Regions from separate parts of the Homo sapiens genome. Here regions 1 and 2 are each linked to region 3. Evidence: promoter capture Hi-C in 16 types of primary human blood cells and fetal thymus (Javierre and others, 2016). All regions are on one chromosome and are shown on one strand. The core of a region is centred on a gene start or on the middle of the fragment in contact, and the rest is flanking DNA. Distances in the headings are between cores, read along the strand shown. Region 1 overlaps NUF2 (NUF2 component of NDC80 kinetochore complex). Region 2 overlaps DUSP12 (dual specificity phosphatase 12). Region 3 holds the start of UAP1 (UDP-N-acetylglucosamine pyrophosphorylase 1).

Region 1 (3,274 bases), core at 610-3,109, 770 kb before region 3:
ATATTCAGATCAGTCACTGCAGTGACATTGCAAAAAAACTACAGAACAATATCCATCATGAACACAGACAAAAAAACTTAATAAAATATTAGCAAATCAAATCTAGCAATATATTAAAAATATATCATAACCAATCAGGACACATCCTGAATGCAAGGTTGGCTTGATATTCAAAAATCAAGTAATGTAATTTGGTAGATTAAAAAAGAGAAAACCCATGATTATCTCACTAGAGGCCGAAAAGGCATTTAATACCCTTCATGATAAAAACTCTCAGTGAAATAAAGTAAAAGTTGTACATTCTGATAAAAAACATCTAAGAAAAATCCTACAACGAATACTTAATAATGAAAGACTAAATGGTTTCCCCCAAGATCAGAAACAAGGTAATGATGACTGCTCTCATCATTTCAATTCGACATTATACTAAAAGTCCCAGCCAGTGCAGAAACGTAAAAAAAAAAAAAAAAGAATAAAAGGCATCTCTATTAGAAAAAAATTTTGTCCTCAAACAAAAATTGAGAATTGTCAATAAGGAAAATCCTAAGGAATCTACAAAAAAAAAAATCTACTCAAATAATAAGTGATTTTAGCAAAGTCAATATATAAAAATCAATTGTACTTGTCTACACTAACAATGACTAATCAGAAAATTTAAATTAAATTTACAGAACCACTAAAAATTTGATTTAGGCATAAATTTAACAAAATTTATTATACAAGGTCTGCACTCTGAAATTTATAGTACATCATTATGAGAAATTTAACAGCCTTAATAAATGCAGAGATATAGCATGCATATGGATCAGAAGACCCAATATTATTAAATTGTCAAATATCCCCCAAATGAACAATACATTAAAAGTAATCTCAATCAAAATGGCTTTTTCAGGGGAAGAAGGGTAGAAAGTGACAAGCTGGAAATACTAAAATACATATAGAGATGCAAAGGACCAGAATAGCCAAAATAATCTTGACAAAGATGAAGAAAGAGGAGTAACACTGATTTCAAAATTTACTGTAAAGCTAAATAATCAAAGTACTGCTTGACATAAAGATAGACATACAGATCAATGGAGTAGAATAGCGAGCTCAAAAATAGACAAATATACAGTCAATTAATTTTTAATAGACTTCCTTTTTGAAAGGAGTTTTAAGTTCAAAGTAAATCTAAACAGGAAGTAGATAGTTCCCATATACCTTGGGTCCCCACACATGTACAAACTCCTCTCCACCAACTTCCTTCACCTGAGTGGTATATTTGTTACAACTGATGAACTTGCACTGACACATCATTATCATCCCAAATTCAGTTTACATTAGAGTTCACTCCTGGTACTGTACATTCTGAGTTTCAACACATGCATAATGACAAGTATCTACCATTAGAGTAGCATACAGAGTATTGTTACTGCCCTAAAAATCCTTAGTGCTAAAGGGATCCTATTCATCCCTCCCTCACCCCTAACCAGTGGTTTCCACTGATCTTTTCACTGTCTCCACAATATTGCCCTTTCCAGAATGATATATAGCTGTGTAGGCTTTGCAGACTGGCTTCTTTCACTTAATAATATGCATTTAATATTCCTCTATGTCTTCTCATAGCTTGCTAGCTAATTTCCTTGTAGTGTTGAATAACTTCTATTCTCTAGATGTACTACAGTTTATTCATTCACCAAGGCTACTTTCAAATTCTGGTAATTATGAATAAAGTTGCTCTAAACATCTGTGTTTAAGTTTTTGTGTGAATATAAGCTTTCGATTCATTTGGCTAAATACCAAGGAGCATGATTGCTGGATTGTAAAGTTAAGAGTATGGTTGATGCTGTCCTGTCTACAGTGAGTGAGTTCTCACAAGATCTGGTCACTTAAAAGTGTGTGGCACCTTCCCCATTGTGCTTTTGCTCCCTCTGGCTATGTGACATGTCTGCTCCCCATTTGCCTTCTGTCATGACTAAGCTTCCAGAGGCCTCCCCAAAAGCAAGCAAATGCCAGCATCATGCTTCCTGTATAACCTGCACAACTGTGAGCCAATTAAATCCCTTTTCTTTATAAATTACCCAGTCTCAGGTATTTCTTTATAGCAATACAAGAATAGCCTAATACACACACCAAATCTCTTAACTTACAGTAACTTGATGGATAAATATCAAAGTCGAATTTAAGGACAATTAAAGCTAGAATTTTACATTCTAATATAACATTATGACTATTCTTTTAATGATAAAAGATAATTTCTATATGGTAAATAGTAATTCTTACATTTGATAAAATTGGTATGATGAATCCACTATGCAAAATCATACTTACATATTATTTGTAGTCATATTCCCAAATTTATAGAACACTTTTTAAATGGAAGGAGTTTTAAAAAAACATCAGAAAAACAGCTTTTCTGTGGCTCTCAAAAGGAAAAAAAGAAATTCAACAAGATATTAAAAATTCATACTTAAAAATGGGATATACTTTTTAAAGGCAATTTCCTTGAAGTTGTTTTTTTCCTTTTTTTTTTTTTTTACATTTACTGATGGAAAGGTGAAATGGTAGATCGAAGCCAGACATTAAAACTGTTTTAAATTCTCACTTACTTGGACATAGAATATCAGCAGTCTCAAAGTCATTCACCCGGCAGATAGGCAAAAATGAGTCCCTTGAAGATGAAGTACAAAAAGACTATTGAAAAGTATTTTGCACATTAAATGCTAAGCTATAGGATATAAACATCTTATTTTCAGAAAGAGATTTCTGGATATATTTCTTAAGGTCAGTGGACGAAGCCAGAATTCTACTATAATGTATAACCCTATAGCACTGAAATCTATTTTTTCTGTATATTAATCATGTAGTCATGCAATACTAAAGTATAGTTACAGATTCTAATAAATAGTACATAAACTTGGTGACACTAAGACTCTTTTAAGAACTCAAACCTCTTCACAAAGACGGTAAACAATTTTCGACTTACAGTATCTTAGAAGTTCAATTGAAAATATGCTGAGAAAGTGGCACAGTTGGAGGCAGTTCTGTTTGATGACAGTCTACAATTTTGAAAGTTTGAATGAATGTATATGGGATGAAATGAAAAGGAACATAGTAGGTATTCCTTACCAAAGAAAACCATGTCATTAAGAAAACTTAATGTAATATAAATACGAATGTAGACGAAGACAATAAAATCACTCTTTACTCACAGATGAGTAACTAAATTGCTGAATGGTAAGAAGCCTTCCATTAAATGTGGATACATGACTTCAGAGTTCACTGGCATCTAAAT
Region 2 (3,308 bases), core at 686-3,185, 800 kb after region 3:
AGTTTTACCACTAAATAAGATTTTTTCCCATATATTTTTCACAGCTGCTCTGATTAAGGAAGCTTCCTTCCACTCTAGTTACCAGGCTTTTCTTTTTAAATCATTAAATGTTGGATGTTATGGAATTCTTTTTCTTGAATCTACTCATTCATTTTCAACTTAAACCCTTGGAATAGAAATACAATTTGAAAAAGAACCTTATGTCTAGAGACAATACCACTCTTTGGTCTAGGTAAGAGGAGCCCCTACCCTGGACCGACACTTTAGAAGACTTTACTCTGACCTCTGGCTCTGCCCCACAGGATAAGAATCCATACTGCCAACGTGATGTGCCCAGCTAGAACAGATGCCCCCTTCTAGAAGTGCATCTAACACCCAAATAGCCCAAATAGCTCCAAGCCGGCTTCCAGGGCTTGCTCTGGCCTCATACCTCTTACGAGTGAAATGGGCTAATGGTATACACCAGGGCTGTAGCCAGATCTTATACATATAGGTGGGGGACCCACATATATATATATGCACCAGGCTCTTCATGATGCAGAACAAATCAAGGGGTGGGGAAATAAAGGAGGCACCCAGTGGGCGGGGGCCACCTCTCCCTGCATTGCCATGCTTTGTCATGGAATCTGATAAAATCAGAGAATTCTGAATTCAAACCTGGTCTGACAGGTCATTATGAAGGGATATTTGTCAAGATAATAGAATAAAACATTTTATTTAACAGATAGCTTGATTTATAATTTTATTTTTTTAAGACAGAGTCTTGCTCTGTCGCCCAGGCTGGAGTGCAGTGGCGCGATCTCGGCTCACTGCAAACTCCGCCTCCCAGGTTCAAGCAATTCTCCTGCCTCCCCGCCTCCCAAGTAGCTGGGATTACAGGGGCCCACCACCATGCCTGGCTAATTTTATATTTTTAGTAGAGATGGGGTTTCCCTATGTTGGCCAGGCTGGTCTCAAACTCCTGACCTGCAGTGATCCACCCCCCTTGGCCTCCCAAAGTGCTGGGATTACAAGCGTGAGCCACTGCACCCGGCCAATTTATGTTTTAAAAGTTAAGACACTCATGCCTGTAATCCCAGCACTTTGGGAGGCCGAGGCGGGCGGATCACGAGGTCAGGAGATCGAGACCACGGTGAAACCCCGTCTCTACTAAAAAATACAAAAAAATTAGCCGGGCGTGGTGGCAGGCGCCTGTAGTCCCAGCTACTCAGGAGGCAGAGGCAGGAGAATGGCGTGAACCCGGGAGGCGGAGCTTGCAGTGAGTCGAGATTGCGCCACTGCACTCCAGCCTGGGCGACAGAGCAAGATTCCGTCTCAAAAAAAACAAAAACAAAAACAAAAACAAAGTTAAGACAAATAGTATATAGGCCTCGATGTGTACTATTGTTGGAACCCTGCAAATGGTGGGGAGCATGACTAGTGAATTTACAACTTAATTAACATTGCATTTGATCCATACTATTTGATTTTATAATCTGATCAACAGTGTATGATGGATAGGCATTGAGTCATATTAAACTGCAGCTATGTAACTACTTTTTACCTACAAAAGGGGTAACTTCATGTGCCGCAAACTGTTATTATTTTTTAAATAGAGACGGGGTTTTCACATATTGGCCAGGCTGGTCTTGAACTCCTGGCCTCAAATGATCCACCCTCCTTTGTCTTCCAAAGTGCTGGGACAGGCATGAGCCACCACACCTGAGCTCCTCAACCTGTTTGTTAAAACTTTCTAGAGAATAATATATGAATAGAGAATAATAGTATGAAGCAAAAAAGTAGATTTTATGAAAGCTAAAACAAATGGAGTAATTTTTTCTCAAAAGAAAAAATTATGGCAGAGAGCGGTGGCTCACGCCTGTAGTCCCAGCACTTTGGGAGGCCGAAGTGGGTGGATCACTTGAGGTCAGGAGTTTGAGACCAGCCTGGCCAACATATGGAAACCCCATCTCTACTAAAAATGCAAAATTAGCGAGATGTGGTGGCTACTTGGGAGGCTGAGGCAGGAGAATCGCTTGAACCTGGGCAGTGGAGGTTGCAGTGAACCGAGATCATGCCATTGCACTCCAGCCTGGGCAACAACAAAACTCCATCTCAAAAAAAAAAAAAAAAAATAGAAAGAAAAATTATTACATGGAAACTGCCAAAGCCTTCAGGTCCAATGTTAAGATTTTTCTCAAGAATTTTCCATAACACTCCTATACCTTTAAAAAACTGAGCTAGGCATTTATTAAGAGGATCATTATTCACAACATATTTTTGCATTTAAAAATTACTCCCACTACGGTGTTTATGTATATAAGCCTCAATGTGTACTATTGTTGGAACCCTGCAAATGGTGGGGAGCATGACTAGTGAATTTACAACTTAATTTACAACAAAAATAAAGAATATTTTTCTTTATTAATTCTTGTTCTTTTTTGGAGTAGCCTCCCAAGCAGCTGGGACTACAGGCGTGTGCCACCATGCCTGGCTGATTTTTTTATTTTTAGTAGAGACAGGGTTTCACCATGTTGGCCAGGCTGGTCTTGAACTCCTGACCTTAAATGATCTGCCTGCCTTGGCCTCCCAAAGTGCTGGGATCATAGGCATAAGCCACTGCACCTGGCCTTTATTAGTTAATTCTGATTCTTGTAAATGTTCAAATATCTAATTAGGTCCAATTGTAATTATTAATAATGAGTAAAATAATTCTAGTTTCTATACATCAGGTTAAAAAACTAATCTGGACGTATTACCTTTTCCAATACTCACATATTGGGCTACAAAATGACTTGATATATAGTAACTCTACATTTGTTTTCTTCATCATTAGAAACACATCTAACATTTATGTATTTCTTTATGTAGATCACTTCAAAAGGGATCTCAAACACTTTTCTAAAAATATAGATAATTGGGATTACTGAACAGTAATAGGAAAATTGCCTTTTAATCAGCGTTTTACTAATGGCCTTTCCATTTCCAAGAAAAAAATCCAGACATGTATGGGTTTACTAATGTCCCTTAAAAGAAAGAAAGTGAAATAATTCCAAAATATGTCCAAACAAATCTGCTTTATGTGTCTGGAAATAAAAGAATACCCATTTAAATATAATAGTTTCAAATTTTTGTACATAATTTTGTCTATACAGACCTTAAGATCATATAACATTCCAACAATCAAAACTTTTAAAAATATATGAAACACAGACAGTATCTGGTTATAAAAGATTTTAATATCAAATAAAATGTACATGATCAAAAGGCTTTGATTGCCATGTAAAGCATAGTTTCCAGGTTACATCAAGTGATTTTATCTTCTCCCA
Region 3 (3,553 bases), core at 880-3,379:
ACCAACCTTTCTCACATGCCTTCAAGATAGTCAAGAGTAAAGAGTGCTCTGTCTGATAAAAGGCATACACAAACATATTACTATAACATTTTAAGATATAAACCAAACTTTTCCTAAAAGATCATTAGATACTCCTCCACCTTCAGACACTTGGGAAAATGAATCCATGCAAATAAGATACCTCATAGGGCCGGGCGCGGTGGCTCACGCCTGTAATTCCAGTACTTTGGGAGGCCGAGGCGGGCGGATCATGAGGTCAAGAGATGGAGACCATTCTGGCCAACATGGTGAAACCCCATCTCCACTAAAAATACAAAAATTAGCTGGGCATGGTGGCACGCGCCTGTAGTCCCAGCTACTCAGGAGGCTGAGGCAGGAGAATCGCCTGAACCGGGGAGGCGGAGGTTGTAGTAAGCCGACATCACGCCACTGAACTCCAGCCTGGCGACAGAGTGAGACTCTCCGTCTCAAAAAATAAAAATAAAAAAAAAAAGGGTACCTCATAGGTTAAACTTTGATATCTGGGCGTAAACCACTGGTAACATGTGTTCATCTACATGTTGTATAATGTTCATAATGTAACGACCATACTTGAGTTTTGGACAAGCACAATTCATCTATTATATTTATTTGAGGCAGATATAAGCACCTTCATGCCACAAAAATAGTAGCATGTTTCCCATTAACGATGTTTAGAGGCACGTGTAATGGTAAGCAGCAATTAACAGAAGAGTTAAAAGATATGGATTTTTATTTTGACAACCGAAATCTGAAAAAGTTGAAAATCTGCTCGAGAAATTATGACAAAACTTGGTACATGCCCACAGCCTAATCCATCTGCATCAAAATATATGAAAAATTTGGTAATAATCTACCATTATCAAATATATTTTTATTAGAATTTAAATACCAGTATTAAAGAAATCCAGTATTTCTCCCTCCTTTTCTGGCTTCCCCCACCCAGCCCCTATCTCTGCTGGTATACGTATGCCCTCGAAATGAATAAGTAAACCTCTTAAAGCTTTTGAAAAACAGTATCAGAGTTGAGACATAACCACCAACTGAATCCTATAAATGCTTGGCAGCACAGCCTATGAAGTCTTTCTTTGCTCCAGCTAAGTGAGCCAACTGACTAACCGTGAAGGAATAGACAACTGCCTTGAGTTTCCGGCGAACTCTTGGATCCACACCCAGTGAATTTCACCTAAAAGTCCTTAAACTTTTGCAATACCAAATGACACACACATATGATCATAATCCTATTACCTGATTTCAGATTTCATAAACCATGTAGAAGTAAGTGTAGCACAGCGACAGGCCAAAGTTCAAGCAGCCATATGTTCAGCATACGTGTGCTCAGCCCTCCAATACCATCCTTCTGCTTGGCCAAGAGAGGGGAAACCCAGAAATTTCAATTCTCTCTCACTACCAGTATCATGGCAAACCAAACCAAAAAAAAGAAAGAAAAAAGTGGCAAGCAAACAGGTTTTGTCCCACTGTCCTGTCCTCCAAATGTATCCCCTGTCTTTGTCAGACCTCTCAAATCTTTTCCTCATATATTCAAGACACACCAACTCGCTTCCACCTGACAGTGCCAACGATCTCCTGTCCCACTACAGGCCCCCACACTTGGTATAACTGTCCACAAGGCCCTAGCCTGAGAGCCTCGAGGTCTCTACTGCCCACCCGGGAGAGGCCCCACTCCCAACCCCACACGCCTACACGACCCCCTCGGACTCAGACACTGGCCCAGACCTCCTCCCACAACGCCCCCAGTCCATCTGGGGCGCGCTCATTCCATCCCTGGCCCCGCCATCCACCCGGCTGCCCAGCCCACACACCCTCTCGCGGGGTGGCGGAGGATGGGGTGCGACTGCGGGGCGCACGGGCTGGGGTGTGTGTCTGCGGGCGAGCGGGAGGCTCCTCGGCGTGTGCTCGGCTGCCCGCGCTGTGCACGTTCGTGCGACGCGTGTCCACGTCTGAGCGCGTGGCCGTGTGTGCGGTGGGGCCAGGCCCTCCGCCCGCCCGGGTCCCGAGCCCCGCCGTCTCCTCGCTGGGCTGGGAGCCCCTCACCTTTCTCGGCGCGACCGCAGCTACGACCGTCTCCAGCTCCTTCCGCGCGGCCACTCATCGGCGTCCCGCGCTCGCTCCGAATATATACCCTCATCCGGGGGGCCGCGGCGGCGGGGCGGGCCGGGAGCGGGGGCCAAGTGGAGCGCCAGCCCCGGCCACCCCGCCCCTCTCGCCACGACTAGTGGCTGCCGACGCCTGAAGGAGTGGAAGCCGACCGCCCAGACACGTCAGCGCCGGGAGCACAGACGACGACGCGGACGCGGAGGCGGCCGCGGCCCGGGGCGCCGGGGCGGGGCTAGGGATGGGGGCCGGGCATGAAAGGAGTAACCCACCGGGCCGGGGCGGGGCCTAGTGCGTCACTCATTCTCTGGCCCAATGGGAATAGTTCTGGAGCGCAGTCGGCTGGCGTCCCGGTCCCTCCTGCGCACTAACTGAGGGTGAAGGATGTCGGTTGGGTCTGCTAGGAGGGGCCAGGAGCCGGCCGGCAGAGAGCGGCTCGTGGGTCCCAGGACCCCTGACGTCCCTAGGTTGTACTGGGAGGTGCGAGCCCGAGGCTCTTAGTCGGCCCAGCGGCACGGGGCACAAGCGGGCCACAGAGATGGGCAGGGAGCTGTGTCCCCAGGGTGGCGGATTTCCGAGCCACCCACGCGGGTGGTTGGGAAAGGGCGGTGGATTTTCCTGCGGAGAAACTTTCAGGGCGGGCCTGGCGCGCTCTCTGACCTTGGGCTAGTTATTTTGTGTGCAGTTCACAAGATGCCTGGCCGGGCTCCAAACTCGCTCTCTGTTTGGTTGTGTTTTGGCTCCCAAGAAGGCGAAGCCAGGCCTTTTTTCTTTTGCACAAACAGACAGGAAAGGAGAGAGGAAATGCAAGCAAAGGTAGTAGGTAACCTAAGGTAGTATAAGCCCGGGGTCATCTTTGTGAGTTTGCAGACTTAACGTCGCTAGGCCTCAGTACTCTGCAGAAAGATGGTGGAGGACCTAGATGACCTCCCAGGCCATTCCAGGACCAGTGTTTACAGTCCTGTTACATAACCTAGTGTGGGTGTGCACACACAGGTTATTATATGTTCAGCACTGTGCCCTTGGAAGCTATGTTTACATTTAAAGTTGTGTTGCATTTTGCAGCTTTTGCAAGAAGTGGAATATGTTGAAATACGAAAATACCTAGATTTAACATACCACCTATCATAAAGAGATTCAGGCGCCTTTCTTCTACTTTCTTGGGTGCAAAGGCCTTTTCATTCCCTTTACCAATTGCATAATCACCCACTGCCTCAAGTAACAACAGAAAAACTTAAACTTGGTAAGTAATGCTGGTAGATTTACATTCAGGAGATTGAATACTCTCCATCTCTCATGATCCTAGAACTTCCTTCGTTTCTTTGAAAGAAGAATAGTGTAGTGATTGGTTTATAGTGTAGTGATTGGTTTCTTAATCATGGGATCTGAAGACAATTTCAGCTTTATTGCTTGTGATCTT

Evidence for each region. Contacts are between HindIII fragments. The CHiCAGO score rates a contact against its expected background, and 5 or more counts as called.
Region 1: a contact is called between a fragment that was not itself captured here and the fragment with the promoter of UAP1 in region 3, in 1 of 17 cell types (fetal thymus). The highest score is 7.7, in fetal thymus.
Region 2: a fragment that was not itself captured here is called in contact with the fragment with the promoter of UAP1 in region 3 in 1 of 17 cell types (non-activated CD4 T cells); the score reaches 6.0 in non-activated CD4 T cells.

The regions. Positions count from the first base shown.
Region 1 is chr1:163,328,222-163,331,495 of GRCh38, reverse strand. It overlaps NUF2 (NUF2 component of NDC80 kinetochore complex), which reads right to left. Exons shown (of 14, transcript NM_145697.3): 4 at 3,192-3,268; 5 at 2,589-2,650. Among named protein-coding and RNA genes, the nearest start is that of NUF2, 7.9 kb to the right of the region's middle. The HindIII fragment of the contact is 204 bases long and covers 1,758-1,961 here.
Region 2 is chr1:161,757,053-161,760,360 of GRCh38, reverse strand. It overlaps DUSP12 (dual specificity phosphatase 12), which reads right to left. Exons shown (of 6, transcript NM_007240.3): 6 at 3,123-3,308. Among named protein-coding and RNA genes, the nearest start is that of ATF6-DT, 7.4 kb to the left of the region's middle. The HindIII fragment of the contact is 3,741 bases long and covers 65-3,308 here.
Region 3 is chr1:162,560,298-162,563,850 of GRCh38, reverse strand. UAP1 (UDP-N-acetylglucosamine pyrophosphorylase 1) reads right to left here and starts at 2,129. Exons shown (of 11, transcript NM_001324116.5): 1 at 2,074-2,129. UAP1-DT (UAP1 divergent transcript) reads left to right here and starts at 2,498. Exons shown (of 3, transcript XR_426859.4): 1 at 2,498-2,613; 2 at 3,199-3,376. RefSeq lists a silencer at 1,641-2,540. The HindIII fragment of the contact is 14,107 bases long and covers 1,024-3,553 here.